Regions from separate parts of the Homo sapiens genome. Here region 1 is linked to region 2. The links are contacts of gene promoters, found by promoter capture Hi-C in blood cells and fetal thymus (Javierre and others, 2016). All regions are on one chromosome and are shown on one strand. Each heading gives the region's core, a stretch centred on a gene start or on the middle of the fragment in contact. The rest is flanking DNA. Distances are from core to core; before and after follow the strand shown.

Region 1 (4,330 bases), core at 49-2,548, 870 kb after region 2:
TTTTCGGTGGGTTTGAGTTTTACGGAATAAATTAATTGGAGAAAGGTCTTTATTAGTAGTAGTATTGTTTTTTAGTCTGGTTATTAGCCAGAATGAAGAGGAATTTCATTACATGAGTCTCTTGGAGGACGGTGGGTTTGTATTTCTGAAGATTTTAGTAATTAGGTTTTCTCTGACCAGCTAGTTTGGGAGAATATGTGGACACTGATTTGTGTACCTCATAAATGCTGAAGGTTCATTTTAAAGATCTAGAGATGGAAAAAACCTAATTTTAGTTTTTTCGGTTGGAGGGCTTCTGCCTCAGCCTTTGAAACAGATATACTATTTTTAGCTGCTATGTTTTGTGTTTGGAGATCTGATTTATGTTTAATGTCTTGTAAGTAATCTCAAGGGAAATATTTCTTTTTTTTTTAAAGAAATGTCTTGTGTAGTTAAGAAAAGATCGTGTATATTTTTAATTGGTTTATTTCGTTATTGGGTGAGAAATAGGGTAGTTCTCTAAAGCAGGAGACAGTCTCTTTGGGGAATGTCCTTTAAGATTTCTGTGTTATTTGACTTAGACTTTTCCTGAAGCTTTACTGTTCTATCTCAATACTATATAAATGAGTCACATTTCAGTAGGCTGATAATATTTGACTAGACTGAGCCACACAGCATCAGCAGGTTACTTCACTGTCGTAACAGGTACTGAATTACTAGAAGAATCATGCGGGAATACTGTAACTAGATTATTTTTATGAAGCACTTTTCAATATAGTAACTTGATTGAGTCAAGATTATATTTATCCTATGTAACCTTTTCAGGTGATGAGTTTTTACAAAGTCCGTGCCTGGTTCTTGTAATACTTGTTTTCCTAGTAACTTGATTGTGTGTGGTTATTTGGGAGTTCTGCACTGTGTTTAGGCTCAGTTGCTTGCTCATTGACTGCACTAGCAAAACACTGAAAAATGGTCCTTTAAAAGGCCAAGAAGAAGAAAGAAGCTGAAGCTAAATAGTACACATTTTGTCATTTTGAGTAATAACATGGTTAAGTAGAGATGCTGGTAAATATTAAATCTGTTCATTAAAAGTCGAATAGTAACAGTTTCAGAATTAACCTTCCTTCATCTACAGACTTTATTAAAAATAATTTAATTTTTGTTCAAATTTCTGTCTCCAAAAAAGTACTTTATAAAATCAGATTTTCACTAATGCTTTCTAAAATAATACAGATTTTTAAAAGCCATTATTAACCATGTTAACTTTTTTTTTTTTTATTTACTCTTTTGAGGTGGGGAGAAGAGAATCATGTACTTCTTAAATTAGGATCAAAAGTTTTACTTCTTTGGACCTGAAGAATAGGAAGTATTCGTTTTGCTCAGTGTTTGTATTGCCACGGAAATCAGTAGATATATATTGAATGAATGTCTTTTGTATTTTGGTTTTGTCTGGCCTTTTGTTGGTTTACTTGTTTTGAGAAGTGAAGGAAGTGGGAGAGAAGAGAATGGTATCAAGAGTACAAGGGTGCAGCTTGAAGGGCATGAACTCCACAGTATAATTTACAAGGATTATTTTTTTCTTGTTGCTACTAAATCTAGAAGAATATTAAAATGATCTTGTAAATAATTTCATTGTTTTATCTTGATCTTTCAGGCAAAAAATCACAGGTAAGGCCACTTATTGATTTAATTAGACTTGATTTCATGGTTGTAATAATTGAAAAATTCGACATGATAGAGCAATTGATGTAAATATATTTTCACAGTTTTTGAGTATTTGGTAAGGTTGAAGTACATTATGGAGGCTTTTTTAGTAGAATTCTTGGCTTGTTACATGATTTTGGATCTATATGCTAGGATGACATAATAAATATAGTACTTTTAAAAGATATGTTAAAGGTCTTACTCTACAGCTCAGTTACTAAGAAGTTTCATTCTGTGTATGTATTGATGTTTTCTTCACTGTCTAGTAAATTGCATCAAACTTTTCATGTACTGTATTTCAAAGTTATTTCCTAGTTAACTCAATTTTCTTTCTTTCAAAGAAGCTTCTTCCACTGATCTTTGAGAATATGTACCAAAACTAAAGCTTAGGATTTGAGGTGCCTGTATTATCTTGCCTTATCATAGTTGGTAGAGGTATGTCAATTGGGTTTTGACATTTTCTTACTGAATCACCAGCTGTGTTTCCTGGATTGACAGTATTTAGGAAGCAACGAAGGAGAAAAGGATGGCATAGGCGCCAGTTTCCTGCTCTTGATCCTGCTCTTACCAAATCTGTTGAACAACTGGAGAATTTAAGAACAGGCAGATGGAACTACTCCTCCTCTCTCCTAGCTGCATTCATGACTCAGTGGGAGTTTAAAGCAGCTCTTGTTGGTTATTAGTTGGTGGCACTTTAGGGAGCAGTGAGGACTGGGAATGCCTTGCCAGCTTCAAGTTTAGTTTTCAGTATTTAAAGTGTTATCTACAGGTAATTCTAGCTTTGATTTTTGTTTTTTTTTTTCACTTCTCTATTCTTTCACATGCTCTGAATAGGGCATCTTGTGTTGGACATCAGGAGTAGCCTGAACTTGGCTGAGTAGGGCTCCTAGAAAACATCGCTGGGCTTGGCAGGTACCACATTGACATGTCCCATGCTTGTTAATGTATATTTCTGAGATTTTAAAAGTGCATTCAAGACCAGCCTGGCCAACATAGTGAAACCCCGTCTCCACTAAAAATACAAAAACCATTAGCCAGGCATGGTGGCAGGCACCTGTAATCCCTACGTGGGAGGCGGAGGCAAGAGAATTGCTTGAACCTGGGAGGCGGAGAGGCGGAGGTTGCAGTGAGCCGAGATCGCGCCACTGTACTCCAGCCTGGGTGACAGAACAAGACTCCGTCTCAGGGAAAAACAAAAACAAAAACAAAACATATAGATAAAATTCACATTGAGCGGTTTCTTCCCACTATCCCCTCTCCCCAGCCCTTGGCAGACACTATTGCATGTTCTATCTCTGTAGGTTTGGCTGTTCTGGATATTTAATATAATACAACATATGAACTTTTGTTTCTGACTTTGACTTCATATGTTTTCAAAGTTCATTCATTTTGTAGCATGTGTCGGTACCTCACTCCTTTTATGGCTGAATAATATTCCATTGTATGGATAGACCACAATTTATCCGTCTATTGATGAACATTTGGTCTGTTTCCATCTTTTGCTAGGTTTGATTTTGAGCATGTTTAAATTGGTATGAAAGTGAGTCTCTTGCCCATTCAATTTTGGGTAGTCAGAAACATAAGGTTTTTTAACTCTAGAGATTGTTTTGTTTAGCCTGTCTGATATTGAGAGGGTAAGCTCATTGCTGAGATCAAACACTCGTTTCTTTGTTCCGCAGATCTTGACTTGAAGACACACTGTTAGATATTGTATTAGGTAAGAGAGCTAAAAAAATTTGTAAGACCTAAAGGAGTTTGTTTAGTGTGGGTTGTGTTTTTGCAAATAAATGATTCTAAAACGATGTGCTAAGTGCTTGTAATAATGGTTTTAAGAAATAACTACCTCTATACTTATTTTGGGCTGTTGTTCCCCTTGCACCTTGACTTTTGCCCATTGGTGGTCTTTACAGTTCCTAGAATGCTGTTTCAAGACCTTTGCACGTGCTGTTCTTCTGCCTGGGAAGCTTTCTAACAAGTTTTTGCCTGCTCAGCTTTTGCTCATCTTTCAATTCCTGCTTAAATGTCTTTTCAAGGGAAATAATTCTCCTTGATCCTCTGAGATTAGGTTAGGCTTCCGTTTATACATAAAAGACAACACCCTGAATCTTTTATTGCACTTATCACAATTGTAATTAAACATTATTTAGGTAATTATGGGGTACACTGTATCCCTGCTGGATTATAGCTGTAAGAGAGGAGACCTTGTTTATCTTGGTTAGGGTAGTATCCCCAGTTTTCAGGACATGTGGTAGGCAAATGTAACTTAGCAAATATTTTTTGAATGAATGAATGTGTGAATGAATGAGCACAGAGCCCCTGGCAGGCAGCAGGGTGTGTGAAAGGGAGTGCACCTGTGAAAGGGAGTGGCATGTGGAGTGACCCTGTTGGGACCAGTCACAGAAGGAGTCTTCATTTGAGCTAGGTTCTGAAGGTGGAGTGGGATTTCATCAGATAGAGAAGGAATTAAAGGACACAGCTGCACACACACATGTACCAGTATGAAAGAACAGAAGAAGTTTCCATACGGCCCTTACTAGATAAGCTTTCTTTAAGCATGATCAGTTTTGGTAGTCTCAGGTCAGAGGAAGAACTGGGATAGTGAGGATTGCAGGCAAATCCTGAGTTAGGAGATGTTGAACAGTGGTCC
Region 2 (3,886 bases), core at 793-3,292:
CATGAATCTTCCACTTGTTGAGCTTTGGTGTAGTGTCAAAAAACATCCACAATTATCTGAAAAACGCTCCTCTGTTTCTGACTACCTATCATTGCAGCTGTATTTTCTCCATACACTTCGACTAAAATAACATACCCCAAAAGACTGAATGTAGAAGGCAACAAAAGAAACCAGCCTTTCTTCTAATAAACCAGGATTTAAAGAGATTTGCAGAAATTTAAACAAAAGTCCTTCTTCCTAATGCTTTTATCCACGACAACATTCAATTCTGATTTTATTTGTCCTTGCTGTAATATTGCCAACTTAAATGGCCTCTCTTCTTCATCTATCCAAACTCTACCACAATTCTCATTTTCTTCCAATATTGTTGTCTATTCTCTTAAGTCCTGCTTTATTTATAGTCACACTTTGGCTTTCGGTCCATAAAATACATGTTTCAAGAATTTCAGTTTTCTCACTTATCTTCAGGCCCTCTTTAAAGCCGTATTTTGTTTGGTTTACATCCTCTTACAATTCACACCACTTCTGTACCGTAAATGTTTATTAATTTATAACTGCCAAGATAGTCTCACGTAACTTTCATACATTACATGCTTATTTATTTTTTTCTAAACAAACTAAATCTGATGGACTGGAAAAGCCAGGGGGCTCTCCAAATACAGGACTGGGTGGCTGCAGAGACCACAGTCAACCTTTAGGGTTTCATTTCCTCCAAGAGAGGACTAACATGTTCCAGGGTAAAGGCAGTGTTTTTATCTGTGACAGTGATGGCAGTAACAAGAGGATCCTTTTCTTAAATTTTCACACCATTCTTTTCTTTTATTTTCTTTTTTTAGTCTCTACTGCAAAAATCTACTAGAACATACTACATAGGTACCAGACACCAACTGGATCTGACAATTAAAGTAAAACCAAACAAGCCTGATTTCCAGAACTGGAGGTTTTTGTTTTGCAATGCAAAAAGGTCAAAATACGTGAGAACAGAAAGTAACTACAGCCTCGGACGATGAGAAAAGAGAAGATTTGAGAAGGTAGAGAAGTTATGAAAGGAAATAAATTGAACTCCCAAATAAACCAAAGGGTTTTAATATGAACAGGGAAGTAATAGCCAGGCCACTCTGAGACATTTCTATCTACACTTTGCTCACTGAATATGCAGAAATAAGATCGTTGGAAAAGAAAGCACCTGAGGTCAGACAGGTAGTAGTATATACTCCGATACTGGTAATAAAGAGGGCTACAGCTCCGCCCTCCACAGGTATCTACACCAATCAAAAAAAGATTAGAAGAGAATGTGACACCTGGAAGTCAGAACGAGCAACTCACGTCATCAAGGCAGAATCACACAATGGGCACAGAGGTTGGAGACTCACTAGCCCCAAGGGTAGGGAAAATGAGGGAAAAAACATACAGAGAAGGTGACAAGTAAACAACGCCAGCGCCTACTTAACTTGCAAAGATCCAGCGCTGCCGCCCCACACCGTGTGACAATGTTTTACAGGGGACGAAAGGCCACCACATACTTCTCAACCCCGAGGGTCTCTTCCGCCCCCAAACCCCACCGGCCCCATTGCCCAAGTCAGCGATGACGGCAAGAGCTTCCAAAAAGGACCCTGCAACCCTAGACGTCATCGGTGAAATGACAGCAAAAGAGACCGGAAATCGACACCCCCCTGCCCCCGCCGCCCGCCCAAGCCCCCAACACTAAGGAGCCCTCCACAGTCCAAGCTAAAAGCGGGGCGGGGCGAAGAGGGTCTCCGGGGCCCGGAGAGGCCAACTGCAGGGCCTGCCCCTCCCTTCCTCCCCCAGTCCAAACATGGGGAAAACTCCAAGCGCCTCCCCTACCAGTAGTAAGAGGCCGAATATGCACCAGCCGATCACCAGCTCCGCCGAGGCCGCGCCAGAAGTCGCCATCTTCGCTTCCGGTCCAGACCAACCTGAGCGCCCGGGGTGGGGAAAGGGGAGGGGGAAAGGGGAGAGAGCGCGAGATATACTGCACCCGCGCACCCTAAAGGTTAAAGGGGCGGAGGGGGAGGAGCAAGTGGTTGCCAAGGAGACTGGACCCACTAGCGTCCCCTGGCGGCGAGCCGAGCGGGGGCGGGGCAGCAAGGACTGCTCAGGGGCGGGGCGCGTGCGGACGCAGTGACATCACCACGCTGCCCTCGCTGGCTTCCCTGCAAGCTGAGATGTGGGAGGGCTGCAGAGCAGGGTGTTGGCTCATAGCTGGGCAACCTATTGAGATATTTGACTCAGCCTAAGTTGATAGACTAGAACAGCAAGGGAACTCCACAAAGAATGGGCTAGGTGGACCTGGAGATCCAAGTCAATTTTAGAGGTTTATACTTCTTCACCAAAAGGAAGTTTGGCCCTCGTGTACAAGGTGGAATGTGTGTGATTAGCAGAACTCCTTACCAGGTTGCAAGAATGGCTGATGTCAGGCCTCTGAGCCCAAGCTAAGCCATCATATCCCCAGTGACCTTCACGTATACATCCAGCTGGCCTGAAGCAACTGAAGATCCACAGAAGTGAAAATAGCTTAGCTGATGACATTCCACCATTGTGATTTGTTTCTGCCCCACCCTAACTGATCAATGTTCTTTATAATCTCCCCCACCCTTAAGAAGTTTCTTTGTAATTCTCCCCACCCTTGAGAATGTACTTTGTGAGATCTACCCCCTACCCCCAAAACATTGCTCTTCACTCCACCTCCTATCCGAAAAACTGTAAGAACCAATGATAATCCCACCACCCTTTGCCGACTCTCTTTTCGGACTCAGCCCGCCTGCACCCATGTGAAATAAACAGCCATGTTGCTCACACAAAGCCTGTTTGGTGGTCTCTTCACACGGACGCATGAGACAGCTGACTCTGAATAAAAGTTGACTAGCTGCCCAAATCACTCTAATTTACTGGCACTGGTGCCCAGCCGGGATAACTGGTTGGCTGGACATGAACTTATCACATGATGTTATAGCCTTTCTATTCAGATGTATGCATGCCTGTGAATTTCCATGATAGCTTTGTATGTAAAGGTATATGCATCAGCAAACAAAACACACTGCCATAGGCCCACAATGAAGAAGAAGGAGGAAACTCTTGGGATGGCTTACCTGAGTCCACAGGGAGGAAACTCTTGGGATGGCTTACCTGAGTCCACAGGGGTGTGAGTGCATGTTTCACCACTGTGATGTAGTCAAGAAACAACTCTGAGAAAAAATACCATCATCTTTTTCCAATGTATTATGTGGTGATGAGTTATGCTCTACCTATAATCTACTTCCGGCTGGAAGCCTGAGGGAAAAAATAGGATGGTCCTTCCTGCCTGGACAGAATAAGAAGGGAATAGGGGAGAATACAGTTTTAACTTGAACTGGTACCATCATAAGCTGGCTTTAAGCCCTCTAGACCTGCAAATGTTTGAATTTCACTCTTTCTTCCTAATAATTCATATCCCTGGAGACCTCTGTCATAGCTTCCTTAAAGTGAAGAGAGGTATCGCTTCCAGGTTGATATCTCTATTCCAGATTGTATAGAGCACCCTTGACATAAGTAACTACTTCTTAGAAAAAGATTCTGTTTACATTTCAAAAGGAATCATGCCAAAAGGGACCAGATGTTCACCTAATCAATAGAGACTGCACCCAACCAGATAACGACATAACCAGGCACACTCTTTTATTATTATTATTATTATTATTATTATTATTATTATACTTTAAGTTCTAGGGTACATGTGCACAACGTGCAGATTTGTTACATATGCATACATGTGCCATGTTGAGGTGCTGCACCCATTAACTAGTCTTACATCAGGTATATCTCCTAATGCTATCCCTCCCCACTTTCCCCCACCCTACAACAGGGCCCAGTGTGTGATGTTCCCCTT

The links. The method cuts DNA at HindIII sites, captures the fragments that hold promoters and counts their contacts. A CHiCAGO score of 5 or more calls a contact.
Region 1: a fragment that was not itself captured here is called in contact with the fragment with the promoter of LMBRD1 in region 2 in 2 of 17 cell types (total CD4 T cells and neutrophils); the score reaches 5.4 in total CD4 T cells.

Annotation. Positions count from the first base shown.
Region 1 is chr6:70,668,711-70,673,040 of GRCh38, forward strand. The region is part of intron 1 of SMAP1 (small ArfGAP 1); the gene reads left to right. Among named protein-coding and RNA genes, the nearest start is that of SMAP1, 3.0 kb to the left of the region's middle. The HindIII fragment of the contact is 1,454 bases long and covers 572-2,025 here.
Region 2 is chr6:69,794,968-69,798,853 of GRCh38, forward strand. It overlaps LMBRD1 (LMBR1 domain containing 1), which reads right to left and starts at 2,043. Exons shown (of 16, transcript NM_018368.4): 1 at 1,846-2,043. The coding sequence starts at 1,914. RefSeq lists enhancers at 994-1,550, 1,375-1,424, 1,551-2,106, 1,735-1,964. The HindIII fragment of the contact is 19,066 bases long and covers 1-3,886 here.